6 separate regions of the Homo sapiens genome follow, and regions 2, 3, 4, 5 and 6 are each linked to region 1. Evidence: promoter capture Hi-C in human tissues and cell types (Jung and others, 2019). All regions are on one chromosome and are shown on one strand. Each heading gives the region's core, a stretch centred on a gene start or on the middle of the fragment in contact. The rest is flanking DNA. Distances are from core to core; before and after follow the strand shown.

Region 1 (4,611 bases), core at 967-3,466:
ACCATTAAAAGGGTAACAGACTAATCAGCTGAATTTCCACTAAAACATCAGTTAAAAGACAGGAATCTTTTGTAAATAATTAAAACAGTGCCAAGTAGGAAATGAATAAATGTACAGGTTTGGGGATTCAGTGGACAACACAAATAGGATAAACTAGGCAAGTAACTTCCATACCAATTTCTTAAGTCTTCAACCAGGTCCCATAGAGTCTAAAGCACAAATACCAATGTGATTTTTAAAAATATAAAACTAAGCAACAGAAATAGCTAGACATGCTCTGGGAACTAGTATCAACTCCATCCACTCACTAAGCAGAAGCCTTTGACGTTTCTCACTCAGAAGCTTACAACTGAAGACCCCACCACTGGAAGTACCTACCTTTGGCGGTTTGAGGCCTATGTACTCTTCACTTCTCGAATTCTGGGTTAAGGGGAGACAGATTCACACACTGGAATGACTAGCCAACAGCAAAGTGTTCTAGTCAATGATGAACACTGCGGGCTTCCAGACAATGTTAACACGCTGAATGCCAATTCCTCGCAACCCACCCTAAATGAGGAAGGACTGTTAGACAAATAGCTCACCTGGGGAGTGGACTCCGACTCAGAGACCGCTTGCTCAGGAAAGGGCTGCTGGACCGCCTTCGACCATAGGGACTGGGCGATCGCCCGCTGTAAGAGCCACTTCTTTCGTAGCTGGACGACCGTCTCCTGCTATAGGGACTGACAGATCTCTGTCGCCTACTGTAGGGGCTCGGTGACCGGGTGCTGGACTGGTAGGCCGAAGGCTCCTTGTAAGGGGGACTGACCGACTGCCTTCTCGAGGTACTTCCAGGACTTTTCTTGTAGGAGTCATAATTGCTCGAGGTATGAGATCGTGAGGGACTAAGGTCATAATCTTGGCCATAAGAAGCTCCCGAGGGGCTATCATCTTGTTTGGAGCTGTCAGACCACTTCCTGTGGGGGCTCCTGGATCTCCGTTTTGGGCTGTCCACTGTTTTGTAACTTTTGGGTGTTTCCCTTTTTCGATGACTTTTACTCCGGTCTTTGTGCCCAGACTTCAGCTCCCGTTCTTTCCTGGTCTTCTCCTTGTGGAGCTTGGATGACCTGGATTCCTTGCTGCTGCTTTTGGCTACCTGCGCCTTCCCATAGTCATCAGTCTCCTCATTCGAACGCTTTGAACTTCCCGATATCCGGTCCTTCATCGATCCCGACTTGCTGGAGACTTCTTGGCTTTTTTCTTTTTCGGTCTGTTTAGCTTTTAGTAAGTCCCGGGAACGCCTGTGCTGGTGGTGACGATGTTTGTGCAGGCGGTCGCTCCGATCTGATCCACGACGTTCGTCGTTCTCCCTTCGGTCTAGTTTGAAGGCCATGTCATCGGAGAAGGTGTCGGAATCAGAGCTGATATCATCATACTCCACCAAAGGTTTGATAACTGTGCCCAGGGATGCTGCTTCGGGGGTCACCAACCCCATGTCTTTGGAGTGTTTGGACTTATGCCGCTTGTGCTTCGATACCAAGCGGTGACGCTCTCTGCTGTTAGAGCTGCCGCCTCCCGATGACGGCTGCAAAGTTCCAGAAGCTCCTCCACTCCCGTCCTTCTTGCCCCCATGTCTCTCTGAATTGGGCATTCCCTTTCCCCTGACCTGAAGAAGGGAAAAAAGTTCCCCAGCACTCCAAAAAGCAACCCCCACCCACCCCCCCAACCCCAACTCCACGCCCACCAAAGCGCCCCGGGAAGGGGGTGGGGAGGGCAGGGACGGTAGCCCAGGCTCCTCCTCCCTCCCGACGCCTCAGCACCCTTCTACATGAGGTGGGGGGTGAAGGAGCGAGGGAAGAAATGAGAGTTCCTCGGCAGTGGAGTTGCGAGACAACGGGGAGCTGCTCAAGTCTGTTTCCTCTTCTCCCTCCGCCGAGCCAGTCCTCAGGCCCGGGCGCCGGGGAGGTCCAGGAAGTGAGAAGCCGACGGCCCGGGGCTGTGGAGCCGACTCCAGCTCTGGGGCCCTGCGAGGACTACGCGGGCCCTTCCCCTACCCGGTAGCCCGGTTCAGGACGGCTTCCTGTCGCCGGGGTGCCGCGGCCTAGGTGCCTCACGCCCCCTTTGTCCCTCGCTCCTGAGGTAGCCCCCTTTCTTGCCTCCGTTTCACCTCCACACCACACACACTCTCTCCCTCACACAGACCCAGTCACACACTAGATTAAACCGAAACGGCACTTGGGGAAGGGGGGAGGGGCAATCCCAGAAATCGTCGCGAGAGTCCAGTAGCCTCTCGCGATGTTTCGTGCTTCGCTTTCACCTCATTCCCCTGCTTATCAAACAACGCGAGATCAGGTCCCAAACTAGAAACGCGTTTCACCTGAGTCTCGCGATGAGCTCCCGGAGCTCCCCGTTTGAGCAAAGCTTTATTGAAACGGAACAAACCGAGTTTTTTTTTTTTAACCAAAACTTTATCGGTAACTGATTAAACAAACACTCCCAGGCTCCGTGACAAAATAATTTCAACATCCTTTTTAACAAATCTTTTAACTACCAGGATGACTTTTTTTTGTTTGTTTTTTGTTTTCCTTTGAGACGGAGTCTCGCTCTGTAGCCCATCCTGGAGTGTTAGTGGCGCGATCTCGGCTCACTGCAACCTCCACCTCCTGGGTTCAAGCGATTCTCCTGCCTCAGCCTCCCGAGTAGCTGGGATTACAGGCGCCCGCCACCACGCCCGGCTAACTTTTTTGTTTTTAGTAGAGACAGGGTTTCACCATGTTGGCCAGGCTGGTCTCGACCTCCTGACCTCAAGTGATCCTCCCGCCTCGGCCTCCCAAAGTGCTAGGATTACAGGCGTGAACCGCCGCGCCGGGCCATTTTTTTGTTTGTTTGAGACAAGTTCTCTCTCTTTTGCCCAGACTGGAGTGCAGTGGCACGATCTCGGCTCACTGCAGCCTCCACCTCCTGGGCTCAAGCAATCCTCCCACCTCATCCTGCCGAGTACTTGGAACTATAGAGTCGCGCCACCACGCCGTGCTAATTTGTTTCTATTATTCGTAGTGATGGGGTTTCGCCATGTTGCCCAGGCTAGTCTCGAACTCCTAGACTCAAGCAATCCGCGATCCTTGGTCTTGAACTCCTAGAATGAAGCAATCTGCCCGTCTGGTCCTCCCAAAGTGGCGGGATTACAGGCTTGAGCCACCGCGCCCGGTTGAGATTATTTTTTACAGAGCAAAAGACAAATGTCGGGACATTTCAACCCAAGTCCCTGAGTGTTTTAACAGTGCTTCCCACATATAGGGTGTGTGCTACCTGCCAAGAATTTTACATACATTATCTCTAATTTTCACAATTATCCTGCAAAACACGAGATTTTCATCCCTGTTTTATAGAAAAGGAATCCCAGCCTCAGGGAAGTTGAATAATTTGGTCCAACAAGTGCCACAGTCAACATTCAAATTCATGTCTTTCTGAGACTAAAACACAAGCTCTTCCATCCTATGGTGTTGTCTCCTTACCAATCTTTGCTTCAAATCTCAGAACCTAAAAGCTCATCCCATCTTGAGATCCTCCCATGGCCGTTATTGGATAATTTAGCCTTTCATCCTCATACAAAAGATTATAATATGAACAAGAAAAGCATAGTATTAATTAACAAGAAAATAACACTATCTTACACTGGCCCCTCATTTATTACTTTTTAAAAAACTTTCGCCTACCTTAAGTCATTCCATCTTCACAACAGTCCTCTGAAATAGGTTGTATAAGTGAGAAAACTAAGGCATGGAGAAATGAAGGGGCTTGTCCAAAACGGAGAAGTTCAGCTGGTAAATTCAGGACCAGAAAACATTCTGAATTAAGGTAGTCTCAATTCTCAAAAATCACTCTCTGTAAATGTTCTTGTTCCTTTTGCTCACAGGGCGATCCAAAACATTTTTTTTTTTTAACCTAATTTTGTGTGTGTGTGTGAAGGGTCTCGCTCTGTCGCCCAGGCTGGAGTGCAGTGGCACAATCATAACTCACTGTAGCCTTCCCCTCATGGGCTCAGGTGATCCTCCCATCTCAGCCTCCTGAGTAGCTGAGACTACAGCCACAGGCCACCAGCCCAGCTAATTTTTATTTTTATTTTTTTGTAGAGATGGAGGGCTGGCTATGTTGCCGAGTCTGACCTCAGATGCCTGGGCTCAAGCATTCCATCCACTTTGGCCCCCAAAGTGTTAGGATTACAGGCGTGAGCCACCACGCCCGCCGTCTCTAAATGATTGAGTCCATAAATATTGGTTCTAAAATAAAAAGATCAGGCCAGGCACAGTGGCTCACTCCTGTAATCCCAGCACTTTGGGAGGCCAAGGTGGGCAGATCACAAGGTCAAGAGATGGAGACGATCCTGGCCAACATGGGGAAACCCCGTCTCTACTAAAAACACAAAAATTAGCTGGGCTTGGTGGCACACACCTGCAGTCCCAGCTACTCGTGAGGCTGAGGCAGAGGTTGAACCCTGGAGGCAGAGGTTGCAGCGAGCCGAGATCGCGCCACTGCACTCCAGCCTGGCAACAGAGCAAGACTCCGTCTCAAAATAAATAAGTAAATAATAAAAAAATTTAAAAAATAAAAAGACCAAGTTTTCCACGACAA
Region 2 (4,154 bases), core at 93-2,592, 590 kb after region 1:
AGGAAGGGCACAAAATCACAGAGGCCTCCCCTCCAGACTGGGGAGGGGATGCAGAGGGGCAGGTTTTACCTTAGGATCTTACGGAGCTTACAAGAGAACAGGATCCTACCCTAAACTGTACGGGAAACACCCAGTTCTACTCTCCAACCCCCCTCCAAAAGTCTAATGGCAACCAGATGAACAAGTCCAGCATTGGGGAGACAGGGCCCCCAGGGGACACTGAATCTCCACAAGGCCACCCTCCCCTCCCCCCAATACCTCCCCCTTTCCTCGGCTTCCCCAGAACTCAGCCAACCCCACCCTCCATTGGAGAAACCTGCTTTGAAAAGTTAGCTCTTTGTTCTTCCACACGGTCTCCTGGCTCTGAGCACAATTTCAGGAGATCTCAGCTAAGCACCCTCCACCCACCCTACTCTGCCACCCAACCCCACCCGGCTCAGGCTGGACGGCCCAGCACCGGGAGTTGGCTTTTAATTGGAGGTGGGGGTTGGGAAGCTGTGGAGGAGGTCTGCGAGTCCTTTAACGACTGAATCCAAGGGGGTGCAGGTCGTTCAAAAACGGGGCTCTTGCGGCAGAGCCCGGGTCCTTACCCAAAACCCCCCGCATCAGATGCCACACACTCGCAGGCTGATAGCCCCCGCCCCGCCAGGCCAGGAAGCCAGGCCACCCCCGCCGGAGCGGACGGTTTTGCAGGGCCCCCCAGCCTCTGCCCCGCCCCCCCGCCCCCTCCACCAGCGCCCCGCGCTTCCGCCTACTTGGCGCTCGGCGCAGAGCGGAGAGGGAGCGGCCGTCTCTTCTCACTCTCCAGGCCGTAGGGGGCGGGACTGCACCCCTAACCTTCCCCCAACACACCCCGGCGCCTGACTTCCCTGCTCCTCTCCCGTCCTCCCAACCCCGGGACACAGAGCCCACCCCTCTCCAGCAGCGGCTGCCCGCTACGCGTGGACTTCCCGCCTCGCCCCAGATCTCCTGGTTTTCAGACTGGGATGTGTCCCCACACCCCATGACACCGCCCGCTCGCCCTCCCTCCATTCTCCTGGGATCGCGGGGATAAGGCGGCAAAGACCCGGCCCTTCTCTCCTCCCTGGATTCGGAGCACTGCGGGGGATTGCAAAGACGCGTCTCCCGGTCCCGGGCTCACCTTATCCAGACAGTTCACCTTCTCCGTGGGATACACGATCTTGCCGCACCGGGCGCAGTTGGGGTTCATGGTTCCGAGAAAAGCTGGGGCGGGGACGCCTGAGCTCACGCGCGTCCTGTTCCCCGAGGCGAGCTGGCGGGAGGCGGCCGCGGCTGCAACTACACAGGCAGCAGCGACGGCGGCTGGAGCTGGGGAACTGGCCTCCGCCTCCGCCCTCCTTCCCCTAATAAACACAGCGGGGAGGAGGGGCTGCACTGGGGCGGGCACGCGCCTCGGGCGCGGGCAAGGGCACGCGCAGCGAGGCGCGCTCTCCGGGCGACGTGGGGCTGCGCGGGGGCGGGTTCCTGGGGGGACGGCGGGGCCCGCGGTGCTGGCGCCTCAGCGCTCTCAGGCTGACTGCGCCCGGTGCCCAGGGCCCTTCCCCAGCCGGAGGCGGCGCAGAGGCGAGCAGGCTGCACATCTGGGGCGCCCGGGCTGCGGGAGGCGGGCTAACCCCTCAAGCCCGTCGAGGGTGGGGTTGGATCCTCCTGAACGCTGGAACTGATTCACCGCATTCGGGGACTTTCTACCCGGCATGAATCTGCGGACCGAACGGGGACCCCCTACCCTGCCCCTCTTAGCTCTCTTCCGGCCCACACCCTTTCCCACATTTGTGGGGCGGAACCCGTCCCTCCCTCTTGGACCCTGCGCGCTGCCGGGCCCGGGCTAGTGCTTCCCTCTCGAGCCCCTGCAGTGCACCTTCCCGGGGTTCCCCGGATGCGGGCACCGTCTGCGTTCAGCTTGACCCCTTTTTCTCCAGCATTCCTTTCTCCTTCTGTTACACCACTACTCACAGTGTAGCAGCTGCAACAATGCTTAGCACCCAAGGAGCCGCCTCCAGGCGCTGTAGAGGCGCGGGGGTATAGCTCAGTGGTAGAGCATTTGACTGCAGATCAAGAGGTCCCTGGTTCAAATCCGGGTGCCCCCTCAATGGCTTGGTTTTTCCTTCCCCTTGTTAACCATCTGTTTTTCATTCTTGACTCACATTTTAACATTGGGTCCTGACTAAAAAAAAAAAAAAAAAGAAAAGAAAAAGTATCTTCCTCATTTTTCAACCTTAGCAGAAATCTTTCGGTTTTACTTTGTGCTCAGCGGGAGGAGGGGGTGGGTATAAAAGCTGCGCGACCGCATTACTCGCGCCAGAGGTGTAGGGATTTCTGCGGCCACGGGCGCCAGCCTCAGATGGGTCAGACAGTTCGAGGTGCCGGGTTTGAGGGACAGGATGTTTCCAATGGGGGTAGGGAGACAGGGGAACGCCTCAACTTGGCGTTCCTTTTGGGGGTGGAGGGTGGGTCAGGCGAGGGAAACCCATAGACACAGCCCTTCTCCAACTTCAACTTTCTGTATTAATGGTGACATGGACGTGCTGTGTTCATCCTTGACTATTAATGTACAAAAGTAAAGTTATAACCCAGTGCAAACTGAGATAAACGAACACAGTGTTTCTCAAATTTGAACGTGCATCAGAATTACCTGCAGGGCTTGTTAAAACACTGCTAGTTTCTGATTCTGTAAGGGGGCCCCGAGAATTTGCATTTCTACCAAGTTTCCAGGTGCCTCTGGTGCTGCTGGTGTGGGGACCACATTTTAAGAACCACTGAAGTAAGAATAAAAGGCCATGGAGTTTCATAACCTAAAGATGGGGACAAGTATCTGCTGGCTGCGTGCCTGACAGGGTCACTGTTGGGCCGGAGGAAAATGGTAAGTGTGACGGGAGACAAGGGCGTCCCCCTCGACTAGGTTTTGCCCAAAAAAAGGAAAAATAAAGGAGAAAGGAAGAGGCGTGCTGCCTGGGTCAAAGGGCAGCTGCGATATTTTAAACCCGGAATGTGGTTGTGTCATTCCTCGGACCCCGGGGAAACGCGCATTTTTTTCTCCTGGCTCCTATTACTGTGAGCTGTATCTCTAGGCTGAACAGAGAGATCACAGATCAGCAGAGCTGCGGTTCCGTGCAAAACCCAGGAGGAACCAGTTTTACCTCTCCTTTAGGCCTTGAACTTTCCATGTATAGCTTATCAAGCCAAAGCCCTGCCTATGAGCTGAGTCAAGAAGGAAGAGGGGAAAATTGCTCGCTGTCTACCTTCTATCTGTGTGCCCTGTCCTGTTCGAGTTCGCGAGTATATGAAAACCTCTGAATTTGGATTACTTCTCCTAGTTTTCATAGTCAAGTACGAACTACTGCCCCGTCCAAGACATATTTTTTACCCCAAAACAAATTATAATTAACGTTAAACCAATGGGCATCGGAGATGGAAATCGATACGCGCCTTTGTTCTCCAACTGAGAGTACTGGTGCGCTTATCGCCACTTGGGGTATGAGGGCTCAGATCCACCTAAAGGCAGCCTCTGGTTGCTGTTCTCTCCCTCTAGGGTACGGGAATCCTTTCAAGGTGAAAATTAGGTAGGTGGAAGATACAAACGACACCTCCCGTGAGTTTTGCATTCAGAACTCGCTGACTCAGGTTATTCCTGGATGGCTGTGAAAAAAACTTAAAGAAACCCGAGGGGGCACCCGGATTTGAACCGGGGACCTCTTGATCTGCAGTCAAATGCTCTACCACTGAGCTATACCCCCTCTGGCGGTGGCTCTCTGGTAAATTGTTTTTACATCGATTGATCCCAAAATTTTCATACTTTCACCATTCGTTCAAAATTAGTGTCTCTTTGCTAGATTATACTGAAATTACCAATGAGGAAGGAGAAATTAAAAGACTAGGCCAAGATAGGCCGGGCACAGTGGCTCACGCCTGTAATCCCCAGCACTTTGGGAGGCCGCGTCGGGCGGATCACGAGGTCAGGAGTTCGAGACCAGACTGACCAAGATGGTGAAACCCACCCCCCCCCCCCCCACCTCCGTCTCTACTAAAAATACAAAAAATTAGCCGGTAGCGGTGGCGGGAGCCTGTAGTCCCAGCTACTCAGGAGGCTAAGACAGGAGAATTGCTGCAACCCAGAACCCAGGAGGCGGGGGTTG
Region 3 (4,538 bases), core at 247-2,746, 660 kb before region 1:
GGTGCCTTAACCTCCTACAGCCCCCTTCCCCCGAGCATGCGCACAACTCGCTCCTCGGCCCGAATGCAGATTAACCCCTCCCGTACCGTGTCTCTCTCTGACTTCAGCTCCTCGATCTCCTTTTCCTTGGCCTGCAGCTGCTGCTGCTGCTGTTCGATGAGGTCCAATTGCAGCAGAAGGATCTGTTTGAGGCAGGCGGCCTGACTGGAGGCTCCCGAGCCGCCACCACCCCCGAGAGGGCTCTTCCTCATACTCTTCCATCTGCCCTCGCTGGCCGCCAGGGTCCCGGCGGTGGCGGTGGGCGCGAGGGGTGGCGGCCCGGGCAGAGGTAGTGGTGGGGGTCCCGCCGGGTCCGAGGCGGTGGCAGCGGGGGAGGCCGCCCCACCCTTGTCCCCAGCCCAGGGCGTAGGCTCTTTGGCCGCCGCCACGAGAGAGCCCGTCTGAATGGGCAGCACCGCCTGATACTTGGGCCGGGGGCTGCAGCCGGCTCCGGCTGCGGCAGGCTCCCCCCCAATGCCGGCTTGCTTGGTGGCCGGGGGCGGACAGGGCAAGGGCACCGAACCGCCCCAGCTCTCTTCCTGCTGCCCGGGGGCCGCCCCGGCCGGGAGTAACAAGCCCCGGCCCTTGCCGCCGCAGCCGGCCGGGGAAGGCGCGGGGCTCCCGCCCTGGGAGGAGGCCAGCGGGGGCCCCGGCTCCTTGAGCTTACGGTGCCGGGGGAGGAAGTGGGCTTCGGCCGCCCCAGGCTCGTCCTCGGGCCCGCCCAGCGCCGCAGCCCGCTCGTAGTCCAGTCGCTGCTCAGGATTGCCGCCGGCAGGGGCCGCGGCCGCCTTGAACACCGCGGATCTCATGGTCATAGTGGTCCGGAGCAGCGCCGGGCACCGAGGCGGAGGAGGGGGTGGGGAAGGGGCGAGGTGCGGGGGGTCGAGGACTGAGGGGGGGGAGGGGAGTTTGGCGGGCTCGCCTCAGCAGCGCGGCAGCAGGCCTCCGCTAGCGCGGCTCCTCCGGGGCCCGGGCGCCATCCCGCCGGCGTGCGGAGACGTGGAGGCCGCGGCTGAGGCCCGCCGCCGGCCCATGGGGGCCTCGCCGCCGCCTCTGCTGCCGCCGCCGCCGCCTTCGCCTCAGAGGCAGGAGCTCGCACCCAGCCGCCCCCGAGCTCATCCCCGGAGCTCGCTTCGGCCCCCCCTGGCCCGGCCGGGCCCGCCTCGTCTCCCCACCCCGCACCCCCCCTTCCCCGCCCCGGCCCCCCGCCCCGGAGCTCGCCTCAACCGCCCCGAGCCTCCATTTCCCCCCCCTCCTCCTCAGGAGGGGGTGGAGGGCTGGGTCCGCCCAAAGCCCTCCTACTCCGGGAGAGGGGGTCTGTCGCCTCTCCCGGGGGTCTCCGCGGCTCGGGGTCCCCCTCCCCCACAGTCACCCCCGGCGCCTCAGCGTTTCCCTTTAAAAAAACGGAGCCGCTCGTAGCCGCCACCGCCGCAGCCGCCGCCAACCGGAGGACGCATGCGCGGGGAGGGGAGCGGGCGGGAGTGCACCGGGAGCCGAGAGGAGGGAGGCGGGCCGCGCTATTGTGAAAGGGGCCGCCGCCGCCTCGAGGGGGGCAGGGAGGGGACCGCGGGGGCCGGGGGCCGGCGAGGGGAGGCCGGGGCTGAGGGGCGAGGACCGAGGAGCGCGCGGAGGAGCGGGGTGAAGGTGGGCTGCCGAGGGAGGGGCGAGCCGGGGGAGGGTCTGGAGGGGGAAGAAGGGCGAGGGCGGCCGCGGGAAGAAGGGGAAAGCGGAGGCTCCCCGGGAAAAAAGCGCGAGAGAATGGAGTTGAGAGGAAAGAAGGAGGATACAGGCGGCCAATGTGTGGCCTACGTGGGAGCGCCCCGAGCGCTCCACGTCCCCGGCCTGCGCCGGGCGGCCCCTTCCCCGGGCATCTTGGCAACGCGCCTGGCCCAAGCCGGAGGGGCCCCGCGGCCCCGCACGCCTCCTGGACCAGTCAGGATCCAGGCTCCTCTTTGAGCCCGCGGGTGTTTCATGGGGGTAGAAGTCTAACCCCTCCACCCCCTCTCCTCCCCAGCAGTCCCACGCGGGTATGGGAGAGAATGAAGTTCTTTGTCTCTAAGGGATTCAAACCAGAAACGGAGGGACCTCTGGTTCCCAGAGGGAGGAAAATCCATGATGTCTGCTGCCCAGGGAGCTATTGCCACCGCCTCCTTGGGATGAAGTATTGCCAGCTACCAACAGTTCCTTCCCAACGGCCATCTTCCAGCCTTCTTAAACGACTCCTAGCATCTTCGGGAGGCTCCTGAAGGACTGAAGCAAAGGAAATCTCTGAAGGGATTTAGTCCTTGAAAGGGAGTAGGGATACTTAGGGTGTTCTGTGTTGAGCGCTTCTTCCTATCTCTCCAGCTTCATGTATGTGTGTCTTTATGTCCAAGCAATTGAGCCAACAAGTCCTCAGAATTCCTTGTGAAAAAAACGTTTTTTTTTTTTGAGACGGATTCTCACTCTGTCGCCCAGGCTGGAGTGCAATGGTGAAATTCAGCTCACTGCAACCTCCGCCTCCGGGGTTCAAGCGATTCTCCTGCCTCAGCCTCCCGAGTAGCTGGGATTACAGTCACGCGCCACCACGCCCAGCTAATTTTGTATTTTTAGTAGAGACAGGATTTCTCCTTGGTCAGGCTGGTCTGGAACTCCCGACTTCAGGTGATCCGCCCGCCTCGGCCTCCCAAAGTGGTGGGATTACAGGTGTGAGCCACCGTGCCCAGCCCTGAAATAGTCTTAATTGCTTGTTTTTCTTTTTTGTCTGAGGTGTGCTTTTTAAAATCTCTATGGAGATGGAGAAGACTGACATTCTCTGGCCTGATGTGAAAACCTCTCATTAAAACTGTGTCTGTGCTTTGTGGGCTGAAAGCATGAAACACTGGAAATTTTAAACAAACGTATGTGAATGTGTTAAGAAGCCAAGAGTCCGGCCCTCTTTCACCAGACTGTATGGCCTCAGATCAGCAAGGGAAGTATTGAGCTTAGGGACACCAAGTAATGGAGTGAGCAGGGATGAGAGGGCACATAGAATGTGGTGATCTCTTTCCATGTCAAGGCTTGTGTGTTTGTGGCACTGGGGTCTTGCTGTGTCCCCAAGGCTAGAGTACAGTGGCACAATTATGGTTCACTGCAGCCTCAACCTCCAGGGCTCAAGTGATCCTCCCACCTCAGTCTCCTAAGTAGCTGGGACAACAGGCTTGGGCTGCCACACCTGGCTAACTTTTTATTTTTTTGTAGAGACGGGCCTTTGTAATACCAGCCTTTGTTGCCCAGGCTGGTATTGAACTCGCTCAAGCGATCCTCCCACCTGGGCGTCCCAAAGTGCTGGGATTATAGGAGTGAGCCACTGTGCCCAGCCTTCAGCGTCAAGACTTTCTGCACCATCTCTACGCTGACAGCTCCGTAATTTATATTTCTTTCTGGACTCATCCCCTAACTCCAGAATCATATATCCAACTGTCTAGTATACATACCCAGTTGGATGTCTAATAGGTATTTCTTTTTTTTGAGGTGGAGTCTTGCTCTGTTGCCCAGGCTGGAGTGCTGGAGTGCAGTGGCACGATCTCGGCTCACTGCGAGCTCCTCCCGGGTTCACGCCATTCTGCCTCAGCCTCCCCAGTAGCTGGGACTACAGGCGCCTGCCACTACGCCTGGCTAATTTTTTGTATTTTTTAGTAGAGACGTGGTTTCACTGTGTTAGTCAGGATGGTCTCATCTCCTGACCTCGTGATCTGCCCGCCTCGGCCTCCCAGAGTGCTGGGATTACAGGTGTGAACCACCGCGCCCGGCCTAGGTATTTCAAACTTACATCTAAAAATCAAGCTCCCGAATTCCTCCCACCCAAACACCCAAATACCACTTCTACAGTCTTACTCTTTTTTTTTTTTTTTTTTGAGACGGAGTCTTGCTCTGTTGCCCAGGCTGGAGTGCAGTGGCACAATCTCAGCCCACTGCAACCTCTCCACCTCCCGGGTTCAAGCGATTCTCCTGCCTCAGCCTCCAGAGTAGCTGGGATTACAGGCATGCACCACCATGCCCAGCTAATTTTTGTATTTTTAGTAGAGACGGGGTTTCACCATGTTGGTCAGGCTGGTCTCAAACTCCTGACCTCATGATCCGCTCACCTCAGCCACCCAAAGCTGGGATTACAGGCGTAAGCCACCGCGCCCAGCCCAGTCTTCCTCTCTTTGTCACCCCATTGCCTTTCAAAATGTATGTCCAAGGCTGGACGTCGTGGCTCGTGCCTGTTACCCCAGCACTCTGGGAGGCCGAGGTGGGCGGATCACAAGGTCAGGAGATCGAGACCATCCTGGCTAACATGGCGAAACCCCGTCTCTACTAAAAATACAAAAAATTAGCCAAGCATGGTGGCGGGCGCTTGTAGTCCCAGCTACTCGGGAGGCTGAGGCAGGAGAATGGCGTGAACCCAGGAGGCAGAGCTTGCAGTGAGCCGAGATCGCGCCACTGCACTCCAGCCTGGCGACAGAGTGAGAGTCCGTCTCAAAAAAAAAAAAAAA
Region 4 (4,612 bases), core at 1,768-4,267, 520 kb before region 1:
ACACTGATTTTAAGACATAACCAAGTGGCAAGAAAAACATACAGTGGGGGTGCAGGATGGGGTAGAGGATGACAGAGGAAGAAAAGAAAAACCAATTAACTACAGAAACCTGGAGTCCAGATTTATCAGATCTTAATGGAAAAGACTTTCTAAATGTGAACAATGGGAGAAATCACATACGCACAAAAGATTAATGGGCTTGACTTCATTTAAAAAAACCCTTTTAGATAACTGTGTATACAAAAGAAAAATATTTTCAACAAATGTGATCAAAGATTCATATTTTTATTCTATAAAGAGCTTGTATAAATGGTTAAGAGATATAATGGTATAATGATTATATTGCCACAATTTCAAAACAAAAATGGAGACGAACTAACATACAAAGAGGAAAAATAGCTAACAGACAAAAATTATATTCCATTAGTATTTGAGTAATTGCAAATGGAAACATTTTTAAACTACCAAATTTGTAACATTAAAAAAATTATAGGTGGGGCACAGTGGCTCACGCCTGTAATCCCAGTACTTTGGGAGGCTGAGGAGGGCGGATCATTAAGGGTAGCAGTTGGAGACCAGCCTGGCCAACATGGTGAAACCCAGTCTCTACTAAAAATAAAAAAATTAGCCGGGCGTGGTGGTGGGTGACCGTAATCCCAGCTACTCGGGAAGCTGAGGCAGGAGAATCGCTTGAACTTGGGAGGCAGAGGTTGCAGTGAGCCGAGATCGCGCCATTGCACTCCAGCCTGGGCAACAGAGCGAGACTCCGTCTCAAAAAAAAAAAAAAATTATAGAGTACAGTGAAAACTACATTTCTCCTGGTATAATGTAAATCAGCACAGTTTTTCTGGACAATAACTATCAAAAACCTTTAAAATGTTCAGCCTTTTAAACTCAGGCATATAGGTTTTGGTGGGAATCTGTACTGAAGAAATAATTAGAAAAGTAGATTTTTTAAGTTGGGCACAAAGATGATTGCTTCAAAGCTATTTATGATAGCAAGAAACTAGAAACAGTTTAAATGCAAAGCAATAAGGGAATGCAATCAATGAGTAGTTTCTTAGGCACTTCTGTATATTCACCGATTAGCACAGGGTATCTGGGCCACACTAATGATATAAATAATAACAGCTGATATTTATGTGCTAGGCACAGTTTTAAGCATTTTAATGTTCACAACAACCCAATAAAGTACTGTACTATTACTTGTATTTATACAGATGAGGGAACTAATTCCAGAACTTGTACTCTTAACCATTATATTGGGTATTCAATAAATGTTTCTGGAATAAATTGAATGCTGATTATGTTTACGAATGTTAATGAAAACACATAAAATTCAAAATTTATATTTAGTTATGCCTTGATACAAACTGTATACATAACTTGCTCTCAATTATAGGAGAACAGCTCAAAAATTCACAAGAAAAAATGTTAACCATGTTTTTTATCCCCTGCTTTTAACTTCTCATACATTCCACAATTTCTGCAATGAATATGAATTACTTTACAAGAAGAAAATGAAGTGCCTGTAATAAACACACCCAGTAGGCAATGCTGAGTGGCACCTTTGACATTGCTGCCACTACTTTAGGTAAAAGGATCTCTATTAAATATCGATCCTGTTGCTCAACTTTACAGTAAGAGCTGATGTAGTCAACACCATCACATCCTCAAAAGCACCACCTAGGAGGATAACTTTGCTTATCTCAATGTTTTTGAGCTAGTTTCTCACGCATTTTAGTGAAAAGAAAACCTAGTAAGTAGTCTGGTCCCACTTGATCCAGAACCAGGAAAATGGCACCAGGATCACAGTGGGAAGCTCTCACTTTGCCCACTTCAAATGGAAACAGGACGCTGTAAGTGGGAAAAGTAAAACATGAACTTGGAGGAACAAGAGGACTACAGACACTCGAAACAGGAACCTCGGAGAAAAGAAATAGGAGACACCGGTATATAGGAGTTTAGGCCAAAGGTTGAGTATTACAAAACCAAACAAAGATGACACCCGAAAAGTTTTAAGTGTGTATGTACTTAAACCCTTTAGAAACAGAGGGGCAGTAAGGACCTGAAGGGAGGAGACAGCAAGGGGACTGTTGGGACACTTCAGTTAGAGAAGTAGGAAACAAGATACTAGGTCGAAATGGTTCATTCGGGGGAGTGTGCTAAAGGCAGCTAGGACAACAAAAATCTGCTGTACAGTTTTAAAACTCAGGAGTCAATATTCTAGGTCATCCTGGCCCTGTTTACACACAGACACAAACACTGGTTTCCAGCGGGAACAATCAGTCATATATTGGAGGCGCTAAAATCAGTCGGGTGGGATATAAACGGAATAGGTCAGAGGGGAGGACTTAAAAGAGGGAGTCCCCAGGCCCACTGGGACCTAGATATAGATGCAACCCCAGATATGGGGATGGAGGGGATGGGAGGGGAGTGGTTCCCAGCCTGGAGAGAAGGTTCAGTCATTGGGCCTGGAGTCGGGAGTGTCGGGGCAGTGGGAGCAGGTATCTGGGGGTGATCCCAAAGAACTGAGGGTGGTGGAGGCTGCTGTGGCTTCCCAGCAAGAAGCCAAATCACAGGGGTCGCTGTCACCCGCGATCGCGGCACGTTCCCGGCCTGGGCTGCCGTACCCTCCAAGGTGACTGTGTCCAGCTCTCGCTGGGAGTGCTCAGCCGCTGCCGCCGCCGTCTTGCCGTCTGCCTCCCCCGTCGACCCGCCACCCGTCGCTGCCTCCTCTTTCATCTCCACATCCTGGGGGGCCGGCGGCGGTGGGGGTTCTTGTTCTCCTCCGCCGGGCGGCGGTTTCGCCTTGTCCGCGCCGCGGCGCCGCGCCGAGCCCTCCTGCTTCATGGCACCCGGGGTCACGGCCTAGTCCGGGGACCGAGGCCGGGGCCTCGCGTTAACCCTCGCACCGGGGACCAGGAGCCGAGCCGGGCCTGCACACGAGCGCGAGATAGCGTCGGGCCGCACGATGACGGAGCAGCTGCAAACCCCTTCCCGGCGCTGGGCCTTCTGGGAAACGCCAGGCCCGGCAGGCCGATGGCCGAGTCAACAAAGGGGAAATAAATCCACAGCCGAGGTGCAGGATGAAGGAGGAGCTTCGAGGAAGGAGCGGGGAGGAGCCTTTATGGGTTCGTGGGGCTTTCTTTCGAGCGCTTAAGTGTGATGCTTTTATGTTCCTCTCGAGTGCATTTCTGTGGGCGTCCACGAGAGGTCCCCTCAGGCTCCAATCTGGGTTACAAAGGACTTTAAGAGCGCCTCAACCAGCGTGGAGTGGGTACAGCCTATCCGAGCGCGGGACGAGATGACGTCACGAGTTGCCGGGCGGGTTTTGCGCCCAAGTTCGCTCAATTTTCCCCGGTCGCGGCGGGGTCTCCTTCCAGATCCGCTGGGCTTGTGCTCAACGGCTGCCGGGCGCATCCGGCAGGAGGGAAGGAAAGAAGGCTGTGAAGGAGGGACGTGAAGCTAGGGCTGTTGGCCTTAAAATAAACCGAACTGGAGAGTAGGAAGAACCCTATGGGATCCGGACTTCCTTGGTTAGATTTGAGTTTAGTGCTGAACATAAGGCATACAATTTCTGCAGGCTGGGAGTGCCGATAGGTAGGAGCGTGCATTTGCGTAGAATCACTCCAGTTTAACAAAATATAGGGGTCCACCCTATGTACGGCCCACGGTTAGCAAATAGGGGGGTGAAAAACAGCTCAAGAATGTAGTATACGGGGGAGTCAGATGGTTAGATAAGCAGACACTGTGCTCTGGGCTGCGGTGGATTGGGAGTGTTGAGGAAAGAGGGTGGGAGCCCCTACTGGCAGACGCTTTAGGGAGCCCATTGAGAGGGCTTTTATACATCCAGACAGACATTGTGAAATGGGGAACAGAATAATGGTGTGCCTAAGGAGAGAATGATGGTTTACTTAGTGGTGTACCTAAGGGGAAGCAAATTGGACAAGAAACCCTACCCACTTATTTTTCAAAGGACTGCCCCACTGGTTCTGCAGGGAAGGTGAAACAAGGTGAAGGATATAGCTCCCAATTTCTTAGAACACACAACAAAAACTCTCTCCCTACCTTGAAACTTTTCTCTCTCCCATAAGTGGAAGTCCTGAGTTTTAGACCTTTCACGGACCCTACAAGACAATCTAGCCCTGTTGTAAGGACCTAGAAGGCAGGAAATATGTTTTGACCTCCTCCTTTGCATATATAAAGGGTATCCTGCATATCTTTTGCATCCTCTTTCATAGGATTGCAGGATGTTCCTTGCGTTAAACAGCCACTCGCTAACTGGAAAGATATGTGCTCTAGTTTTAGGGAACATGCCTTGACCAGTTCCTCCTCAACTGTCCTCTCACCCTCCAGGGCTGGGGGGTGGATAACAGGACTTTTGAATCATCATTGGAATAAACTCATTAGAACCTCTTCATAACACCATATCTGCAACTGAAGGTGGGCGAGAATGGTAAGGAAGAAAACAGATGAGTTATGTTCATCCTTAACAATCAAAGGAGTTACTCTTCTAGATAGTTAGGGTGTTAGCTCATCTCTCTATTAAGTTTACATCACAAGGAGAAAACAACCAAGTCAGCAGATAACAACCCAGTATATCCATGAG
Region 5 (4,642 bases), core at 118-2,617, 640 kb before region 1:
CAGAGTCTCACTCTATCCCCCAGGCCGGAGTGCAATGGCGATCTCGGCTCACTGCAACCTCCACCTCCCGGGTTCTAGCGATTCTCCTGCCTCAGCCTCCTGACTAGCTGGGATTACAGGCACCCACCACCACATCCGGCTAATTTTTGTATTTTTAGTAGAGACGTGGTTTCACCGTGTTGGTCAGGCTGGTCTCAAACTCCTGACCTCAGGTGATCAACCCACCTCAGCCTCACAAAGTGCTGGGATTACAGGCATGAGCCAAAGCACCCGGCAATGCTGGCTGTTTCTAACCCCTGTTCAGTATTTCACTTGTACATCTACCCACCTTCCCATTCGGGGTGGGCAGATGAAACTAGCAATGGACGTCTGACCTTGGGTCGGTCACTTCTCCTAAGCTTCCTGTTCCCCACTAGTAAAAAGAGGGAGGCTTAAGATGATCTACATGTTCCCCTCTGAGTAGTAATCTTCTGTGGAATTCATATTTTATCCTCCAGCACCGAGGGGCAGGGGTGTCACTCTGCCCCCACCCCCTGCCTCACCTCTTCCCCATTACTTTAGGACCTCAAAGCACTTTCACTATTAGTTCCCCTCTGTTGTCCTTTTTATTTCCCAGACAAAGGGAAATGACTCACCCCAAAGTCAACTGGAGTGGGTGGAATGGTGTCATACAAGCAAACAGGGAGTCCCTACAGACATCCCTACCTCTGTGGGAACTCCTTCCCCTGGAGGTGTTCTCCCTAAGGCGAGTAGAAGGGAAAGGGGGTCACATTTCCTTTCCTTCTCTGGACTTTGCCCTGAAGCAGAGGGCAGCCTAAGCTCCTGACTCCAGGGAAATCTCCCTCCCCGGCTTCTCTCTCTCCCGGTCACCAGTAACCTCAGGACGAGGTCAGTCCTGCAATCACGTGAAGCCCTCACGTTTGCAAGGTTTGCAGAAAGGGCCTCTTAGCTTTGATCTCCCAGACAGCAAACAAGCTTGCCAGTCCCTCCCCAGAAATTCACATGCCCCTGCCATACAGGCTTTCTAAACACGCCACCCTGACTCTTCAGCGCACCCCACCCCACCCCACTCTCAGCTCCTCCCAGGTCCCGGCAAGCGCTTTGCCAGGCAGAAAGGGGAAAGGCACGCAGTCCGCCCACTTTGTCGGTGGACTACAAATCCCGACAGTCTTGTCGTTGCGCAGGCGCGCAAGAGCTCAACGTGCCGGCTGTTGGAAAAGTGTGTCACTGGGGCACGAGGCGCTCCCTGGGATCACATGGTACCTGCTCCAGTGCCGCGTGCGGCCCGGGAACCCTGGGCTGCTGGCGCCTGCGCAGAGCCCTCTGTCCCAGGGAAAGGCTCGGGCAAAAGGCGGCTGAGATTGGCAGAGTGAAATATTACTGCCGAGGGAACGTAGCAGGGCACACGTCTCGCCTCTTTGCGACTCGGTGCCCCGTTTCTCCCCATCACCTACTTACTTCCTGGTTGCAACCTCTCTTCCTCTGGGACTTTTGCACCGGGAGCTCCAGATTCGCCACCCCGCAGCGCTGCGGAGCCGGCAGGCAGAGGCACCCCGTACACTGCAGAGACCCGACCCTCCTTGCTACCTTCTAGCCAGAACTACTGCAGGCTGATTCCCCCTACACACTCTCTCTGCTCTTCCCATGCAAAGCAGAACTCCGTTGCCTCAACGTCCAACCCTTCTGCAGGGCTGCAGTCCGGCCACCCCAAGACCTTGCTGCAGGGTGCTTCGGATCCTGATCGTGAGTCGCGGGGTCCACTCCCCGCCCTTAGCCAGTGCCCAGGGGGCAACAGCGGCGATCGCAACCTCTAGTTTGAGTCAAGGTCCAGTTTGAATGACCGCTCTCAGCTGGTGAAGACATGACGACCCTGGACTCCAACAACAACACAGGTACTGAGATTTCTTTACTATCATCTTTTCCCTGTCACTGTCTCCCCACCTCCATCTACGCCTTATAAAAAGAGGAACTTTGTAAGGGACTGGGGTGTCCCTCGGCCCGGAGATTTGCTAACGTGCTGCGGTGCTTTAGTGTGGGATTTCCAGAGCGGCTTGTTCGGGCTGGAAATGCTCTCAGAAACGCCCCATCACCACCCCTCAGAGTCCCAAAGCTCCCTTGAGCCTCGAATCCCTGGGCAGGAGGAAATGGAGAGGAGGTACGGGTGGTGAAGCGAAGAATTTAGGGGGACTGGGAGCTTTGGAACAGTGCCCCGAAACGGCCCCATCTGTCCACTACCTGCAGCTGTAGTATGCCTGGCCTCAGAAAACGGACCCCCTCCCCTCTTGTCTTCCCCCTCCTCTAGTTCCTGCAGGCGCGAGGGAATCTGAGAAGAGTGGCGCGATGGGGTTCAGGGAAGGAGGGGCTGGGAGAATCGTTCGGATCTCACTGGGGAATCCTCAGTGACAGGAGGGAGCGACACTTGAGGAGTCCAGAGCGTGGTGCCCGGCCCGAGGGAGGGCACCTACAGGGCTCCGGCCGCCGGGAGGGCTCACATGGCTCTAGAGCCGGGCCCACGTGCTGCGTTTGTTTTCATTCAGCAGAAGCCGTGGCTGCCACCCCATTGGTCGTTGCCTCCCGGCCTCGTTACATAATGAGCTCCGCCCCCCCGGTCGCCCCGGCAACGCGTGTTCCCTTCTCTCCTCCCCTAGGTTGTCCTGGCCCTGCTATCGTTCGGGGTCCAGCCCACGACCTGGTGGCCGGGGAAGGGCGGGTAGGAGGCGGGGCGACTGCTCTCGATTGACGGGAAGCGAGGAGGGCGGGGCCTCGAGTTCCGGGGTTCCTCGTTGGGGAGCCACGTGCGAGAGGCACACGTGGAGCAGGGACGTGAGGCCGGCTGAGGGCCCAGCTCCCGCCCTGCCCCGCCCCGCCGAGATCTGGGTGAAGCTGGGCTGACTCACCGCCCCCGCCTGCCTCCTTTTCCGGTCCGCCTGCCCGGCCCCCTCCCCCATCACCAAAACAAAGTAACATGGAGCCATTCCTGACCTTTCATGGCCTTCTGTTTTACACTCCCTAAAGAGACCTCACCCCTAACCACCCTTCTCACTCCTTTCCACTTCACTCTTATTTGCACCTACTTCACCGTACTGCATTTAGACTCAGCTTCCCCACATTACAAATTCCTGTTCCCCAAGCTTCTCTCTCCTTAGTTCTGCGAGCATTGTCTTACCCCCATCTCCACCAGACAAGCTGCAGTTTGCCTACTAAGGGCTCCCCAAAGCAACTGCACCCCACAATCATAGCTGAAATGATACTGTCCTTTTTTTCTCACAGAAAGGAAAACTGAGACCCAAAGAGGGGAGTTGATGTCCTCTAGGTCACAAAATAAGTTGGTAGTGATGGGTCTAGACCTAGACCTAGACTCTTGAGTATGCTCCTCACTTCCACGTTGGAAGCCTCTGCATGAAGGTCTCACTCCTTTTTGGGGGATGGGTGAACTAGGTCAACTTCATTTACTGCCAACTAATGATTCCATCCCCCACCTCAGCCCTGAAACCGGGGGAGCTGATCTGTTGTGCAACTATTTTCCAAGGAGCTGGGTTCACCCTGACCAACCTTGAGCTATTTTAGGGCCGCCCTGCCCAGTTCAGTGTGTGTCAGTGGGTGAGCAAGACATGTGCCTCTGCAGACACAGTGGCATGGCATGTGTTAGGTCACATGTGTCCTGGGATCCTCCCTTCTCCCACCCCGCCCATGGCAGACCAATCTAGGTGCTTGCCGGAGGTGTGGCAGGCAGGTCACCTTTTTCTCCTGCTAATACCACGGGAGCACAGCCACCTCATTGGCAATGTAACCAGAGGGTCAAAGTCCCTGAATGGCCAGAGAGCCAAGGTCATTGTTACCAGGCTGAGATCTGAAGGGGGAATTTTAGAGCCCCAGGCTGGACAGTTTGTACTTCCACCTCCTGCAACTCGCACCTCGAAGTCCTTTTTGGACACAGGGATAGACTCCACTGTGGCTCACTCTCTTAAGAGGCCAGGGGAACCAGGCTGGGCAGATTCCTTCCCTTCATTTCCTTCAGAGAATATATGTCCCCAACTGGGGGGAATGTGACTGTCTTACTTTTGTAAACCCTCCATTCTCTTTACTGTTGGCTACCTATCTCTCCATGGTCCATGGTCTCATTCCTGGAATGGTCTTAGTGTTAAAATCAGCAGCTGGGTTTTTGTTTTTGGAGGACTGGGCACTTTGAATGGTGCTCAGCTGCCCATCCCATCCCCAGATCTTCAACTGACAACTAAGTCATTAGCTGCAGTCGATATTCCCAAGGAAGGCAACTAAGGAAGGGGGGCACATATGCGAGATGCCACAGGGGTCATGCCTCATACTGAAAGCAGAAGCTGAAGGTGGCCTGCAAAGGGTCGTAGGTGTTGCTTGGCCATGCCATGTCTACTGTGTGTTGGGGAATTGCTTATTAACTCCAAGATTAGGGGCTCCACATGGTGAACTGAGTGGCCAGCAATGTTTTGGGCAGACAGGTGGGGATGAGCACAGTGGCACCCTAGGTCCGGAGACATGGCGGCTGACACCCCCTTTCCTTTTGTTCTCTCTCCAGGTGGCGTCATCACCTACATTGGCTCCAGTGGCTCCTCCCCAAGCCGCACCAGCCCTGAATCCCTCTATAGTGACAACTCCAATGGCAGCT
Region 6 (4,174 bases), core at 221-2,720, 720 kb before region 1:
GAGAATACTATCCCCCCCACCAAACTGCTAAGGACAACGCATCCCTTTGCTGATGCCTAAAAGGCAGCTTGGGGCCTGTGCCTGTCTGGCACTGCCTCCCTGGGTGGGTCAGCCTGCGCTGTGTAGGCCTCTGAACAGTCAGGGACCCCAGGGTTTTCAGGGCTAAAGCACCTCTGGCGGGTGGCATGGCTGCGCTGGGCAGCTCCCATTTTAATGTGTCAGGCCCTAATTTGGGGCCACAGGAGGAGGTATTCAACATCAGGGACCCATGGGAGTCAGTGGCTCCAATGCCCAGGGGAAAGGAAGGGTGGCTGAAGGAGAGTAAGAGGCTCAGCTGCTTCTCCAGACGAGGGTGAGGCTGCTGTAGGGAGGAAGGTGAGTACTGCTCTCCTCTTCCGCGGGAGGGTCTGTACCTCCGCTAGGCCCCTAGCCGGCTTCCGCGGACCACTCAACCCTATAACCAAGCCCCGGCACGGCGCCACCCCTACGCTCCAAGGGCAAGGAAGAGGAGCCGGGGCCAGCCCCTGCTCTGGGTGTTCGAGCCCACCGGCTCCTTACCTGAGGCGGCGCTGTCCCTGGTAGCCCCTCCAGCAAGCCGCTCCAGAACCCGGTTCAGAAGATGCTCGGGCCGCTCGGGGGCGCCCAGAGGGGCCCAGGGCGGCGAAGTCAAGGGCTCGCCTGGGGACAGCTCGTCAGATGAGTAGGAGGAAGGGGAGCGCAGGGGCCCCCCTCCCCCGAGAGGCCCGGGCCCCGGCACCTCCTCCAGCTGCAGCCAGCAGGGCCCCCCGCTGCCCGGCTCCTCCGCGACCCCCGCCGGCTCTCCTCCTTCCTCCTCAGGGGGCGGCTCCAGCCCCGGCTCGGCGGGGGGCTCCCGGAGGAAAGCGGGGAGCAGCAGGCGAGACACGCTCTGACGCCGCTGCAACGACCGCTGTCCCCCGGCTGGACCGCCGCCCCCGCCGGGTCCCCCACCCCCTCCAGGCCCACCGCAGCTCCCCAGACCCCCGCCGGGACCTCCCGCCACCGTTCGGCCCGCCAGCTGCGACGTCTGCTTCTTCAGAAATTTCTCCAGCGGCTTCATGCCCCCCCCCGCCCCTCTCCTAGGGGTCGCCGGGGGACCCAGGTATCCCAGGCGCGGGCGGGGGGGGCGGCGAAGACACGATGCTCAGAGCTGGAGGAGCAGAGTAGAGGGCCGTGCCAGGCGCCAGACTGGGGGCCAGAGGGGCCGAGCCTCGCTGGCCAGAGTCCAGTGGCCAGTAGCCGGGGGAGGTGCCAGAGGAAAGGAGTGCTCGCTCTCAGCAACCCCCCATGCCGGCTGCAGCCGGCACGCGGCCCGAAGAGTGGGCAGGCTGCGGGGCCGGTGCGCCCGGCTCTGCGCTGCGGCGGCAGAGGCAGCGGGCGGAGCGCAAGGCTGAGAGGACGCGGCGGCGGCGGCGGCGGCGGCTGCGCTCCTGGCCGTGAAGAGGGGGAAGGTGGCAGAACCGAGACCGCGCCCCCTCCTCCAGTCCCCGCCCAGTCCCCGCCCCTACCCTTCCTCGGCTCGCCCCCGCGCCGCACGAGGCTTGAACTCGCGCGCTGGGGTTGACCGCGAGGGAAACAGTAAGGGACTTGGGTTCTAAGCAGAAGAAATTAAGGGCAAAGGTAAGTCAGAGATTTACCAATGGGGAAGGATTCCTGGCTCAAGGGATAACCGGGTCTCAGCATCATTTCAAAGAGTCAGGACAGGTCTGTGGCCTGGACACCTTCACTCACCTACCTGTGTACCCAAGTCAGGCCTACAGATTGCTGAACCCAAGAGTGTGCACCTTTCTCATACTCACAGAAATATGTGGAGTTTATCTTCCTTCTGTGAGAAGAGCTGGGAAGGCCTCTTGGGTGAATTAGCATTGCCACTGGAGGCGGTGCCCATCTGTCCTCTCTGGTAGGGCACAATAGGTGGTGTGGGCCTGGTCTGTGGGCAGGTACTGGCAGGCAGGTAGGAGCCAGGCAGGGAGCAGCAGGTTGTGGCAGGTCTAGCTGGGGTGAGGAGGGGATAATAGGCAGTGGGGAGGAGACCAGGAGCACAAGGGCACCTGAGCCCAGCTGGCAGCAGAAGGAAGCAGGGCCATGGAGACAGGTGACAAGCCCCAGAACTGCCGACTATCATCAAGCACAGAGCCCAAGTGTACATGGCCATGGAGTGGGAAAAGTGGTGCCAATTAGCACTCCAAGTAATCCTTACTCCTGATGCCCACACCAGGAGCATTCTGTCCTTAAGGATATGCTGCCCCAGAAGGAGTGTGGGGGAGGAGGGGGGTGCATCGTAAAGCCATGCTAAGTGTGAGAACATCCAGGTTAGACTTACAAGGTGTGGGAGTGGCAGCAGGTTCTCGATGGGTTGAGGCTCTCTGGACAATGCCCCACCCCTGTTTACCGAGCACCAACCAGGCAGAGACAGGAATGCTAATGGCTGGGAGTGGTAGTAAAACTGAACAGGGTGTGTATGACATACGTATCAATGTATGTGCATATCTGTTCCCATGTGTGCTAGAGCATGTGTTCACAGAAATAAAGCTTTGCACACCCATCTGTTTGTGGATTTGGAAACAGTAAAAAGAAGACAGCGCACAATTTTGGCTAAGAAGCTGTATTAGAGGTCTGAGTATCAGCTTCCTGTGCTCCCCTTATTGGACACTCCAATATCCCCTGGCTTGAAAGGGGAAAGTGGCTGGAATGGGTTGGAGCTCCCCAGGTAGCATTTTATGAACTGAATAGGAAGAGGGAAGGGCTTCTCTCCCAGCACATGCCACAGTTACCAGATTAAGCCGGTTGCCTTGGTAACCTTCTCTCTGGGCAGGATTTGGGAATTGTTGGTTAGGAAGGGCGAATTGGGGAGTGTGAAGGGTGTAGGGGGTTGAAAATAAAACAGACTGAGAGACTTCTGGAAGCTAGAAGCTTGGGACACAGGACCCCAGTACTCCCCCAAATGCTCAAGGATGTCAGGCAGAGACTAAGTTCAACATTTTGAATCAGTGAGGAGAGCCAGCATCAAGTCATGGTCCTCCTGGAGTGGCAGTGGTTTTCACCCTGACTACACACTGGAATCACAGGGAAGCTTCTCAGAAATACTGATGCTGGCTGGGCTTGGTGGCTCACGCCTGTAATCTCAACACTTTGGGAAGCCAAGGCGGGCAGATCACTTGAGGTCATGAGTTCAAGACCAGCCTGACCAACATGGTGAAACCCCACTTCTAAAAATACAAAAAAAATTAGCCGGGCATGGTGGCACACACCTGTAATCCAAGCTACTTTGGAGGCTGAGGTAGAAGGATTGCTTGAACCTGGGAGGTGAAGGTTGCAGTGAGCTGTTATCATGCCACTGCACTCCAGCCTGGGTGAGAGACTCCATATTAAAAAAAAAAAAAAAATACTGGCCAAGTGCAACAGCTCACGCCTATAATCCCGGTACTTTGGGAGGCCGAGAAGGGTGCAACATGAGGTCAGAAGTTCGAGACCAGTCTGGCCAACATAGTGAAACCCTGTCTCTACTAAAAATACAAACATTTGCTGGGCATGGTGGCTGGTGCCTGTAATCTCAGCTACTCAGGAGGCTGAGGCAGGAGAATCGCTTGAACCCGGGAGGTGGAGGCTGCAGTGAGCCGAGATCATGCCACTGCACTCCAGCCTGGGCAACAAGAGCAAGACTGTCTCAAAAAAAAAAAAAACAAACAAACAAAAAAAAAACTGATGCCTAGGCCATATCTCAGACCAATTAAATCAGATTTCTGAACCAGGGCGAAGGCTTATGGTATTTTTTAAAAAGCTCCTCACATGACACAAATGGCCAGGATTGAAAATCACTGCCCTAGACGGACAGTCAACCCAAGTGGGCTGCAGATGCTGGGAGCTGACTTTGGAATTCCAAGTCTTTGGTGCTCCGAGTTGCCTACAAGGTAGCAGGTCTGTGCGCTGACCCTGAAGGGGAAGAGAGCTGGCAGAGCATTTGCACCCGCTTATGGAAGAAATAAAGAGGAAGGCAGGGTGGTATGAATAACAACTATGAGATGGGGGCGAAAAAGCTTTGAGCTTTTTTTGAGCCCATGGGCTTCTACAAGGGGACTGGGCAGGGCCACCTCAGGCTATCTGTCTGCTGCTTACACACCCTCTTCTTTCTGCCCACCCAGAGGCAGGCTGGGAG

Evidence for each region. The method cuts DNA at HindIII sites, captures the fragments that hold promoters and counts their contacts. A contact is called where the count stands out against the background at its distance.
Region 2: a contact is called between the fragment with the promoter of LASP1 here and the fragment with the promoter of CDK12 in region 1, in 1 of the 25 tissues and cell types used here (hippocampus).
Region 3: the fragment with the promoter of MSL1 here is called in contact with the fragment with the promoter of CDK12 in region 1 in 1 of the 25 tissues and cell types used here (liver).
Region 4: the fragment with the promoter of PSMD3 here is called in contact with the fragment with the promoter of CDK12 in region 1 in 1 of the 25 tissues and cell types used here (heart right ventricle).
Region 5: a contact is called between the fragment with the promoter of NR1D1 here and the fragment with the promoter of CDK12 in region 1, in 1 of the 25 tissues and cell types used here (lymphoblastoid cells).
Region 6: a contact is called between the fragment with the promoter of RAPGEFL1 here and the fragment with the promoter of CDK12 in region 1, in 1 of the 25 tissues and cell types used here (hippocampus).

The regions. Positions count from the first base shown.
Region 1 is chr17:39,459,091-39,463,701 of GRCh38, reverse strand. CDK12 (cyclin dependent kinase 12) reads right to left here and starts at 2,216. Exons shown (of 14, transcript NM_016507.4): 1 at 585-2,216. The coding sequence starts at 1,630. RefSeq lists enhancers at 1,435-1,564, 590-1,789, 1,955-2,014, 2,105-2,154, 1,515-2,439. The HindIII fragment of the contact is 12,986 bases long and covers 1-4,611 here.
Region 2 is chr17:38,867,246-38,871,399 of GRCh38, reverse strand. It overlaps LASP1 (LIM and SH3 protein 1), which reads right to left and starts at 1,342. Exons shown (of 7, transcript NM_006148.4): 1 at 1,142-1,342. The coding sequence starts at 1,210. TRC-GCA4-1 (tRNA-Cys (anticodon GCA) 4-1) reads left to right here and starts at 2,037; the gene lies at 2,037-2,108. TRC-GCA2-2 (tRNA-Cys (anticodon GCA) 2-2) reads right to left here and starts at 3,755; the gene lies at 3,684-3,755. RefSeq lists enhancers at 1-80, 1,093-1,242, 2,733-2,912, 2,488-3,088, 3,089-3,691, silencers at 683-782, 1,303-1,612, 3,033-3,132 and a cis regulatory region at 3,350-3,963. The HindIII fragment of the contact is 16,045 bases long and covers 1-4,154 here.
Region 3 is chr17:40,118,929-40,123,466 of GRCh38, reverse strand. It overlaps MSL1 (MSL complex subunit 1), which reads right to left and starts at 1,496. Exons shown (of 9, transcript NM_001365919.1): 1 at 87-1,496. The coding sequence starts at 854. It overlaps LOC124904001 (a long non-coding RNA gene), which reads left to right and starts at 1,627. Exons shown (of 2, transcript XR_007065752.1): 1 at 1,627-1,683; 2 at 2,054-2,938. RefSeq lists an enhancer at 17-655 and silencers at 356-805, 856-905, 1,006-1,145, 1,206-1,415, 1,456-1,655 and 1 more. The HindIII fragment of the contact is 12,972 bases long and covers 1-4,538 here.
Region 4 is chr17:39,979,212-39,983,823 of GRCh38, reverse strand. PSMD3 (proteasome 26S subunit, non-ATPase 3) reads right to left here and starts at 3,017. Exons shown (of 12, transcript NM_002809.4): 1 at 2,634-3,017. The coding sequence starts at 2,853. RefSeq lists a silencer at 2,677-2,726 and enhancers at 2,129-3,106, 2,907-3,186, 3,407-3,586, 4,008-4,612. The HindIII fragment of the contact is 7,545 bases long and covers 1-4,612 here.
Region 5 is chr17:40,097,314-40,101,955 of GRCh38, reverse strand. NR1D1 (nuclear receptor subfamily 1 group D member 1) reads left to right here and starts at 1,367. Exons shown (of 8, transcript NM_021724.5): 1 at 1,367-1,892; 2 at 4,553-4,642. The coding sequence starts at 1,862. RefSeq lists enhancers at 1,002-1,121, 1,602-1,671, 1,137-2,120, 2,121-3,105, 2,024-3,223 and silencers at 2,453-2,542, 2,553-2,902, 3,426-3,720. The HindIII fragment of the contact is 7,590 bases long and covers 688-4,642 here.
Region 6 is chr17:40,174,766-40,178,939 of GRCh38, reverse strand. It overlaps RAPGEFL1 (Rap guanine nucleotide exchange factor like 1), which reads right to left and starts at 1,470. Exons shown (of 15, transcript NM_016339.6): 1 at 559-1,470. The coding sequence starts at 1,078. RefSeq lists enhancers at 1-341, 342-1,198, 1,590-2,090, 2,091-2,591 and a silencer at 1,429-1,558. The HindIII fragment of the contact is 8,651 bases long and covers 1-2,741 here.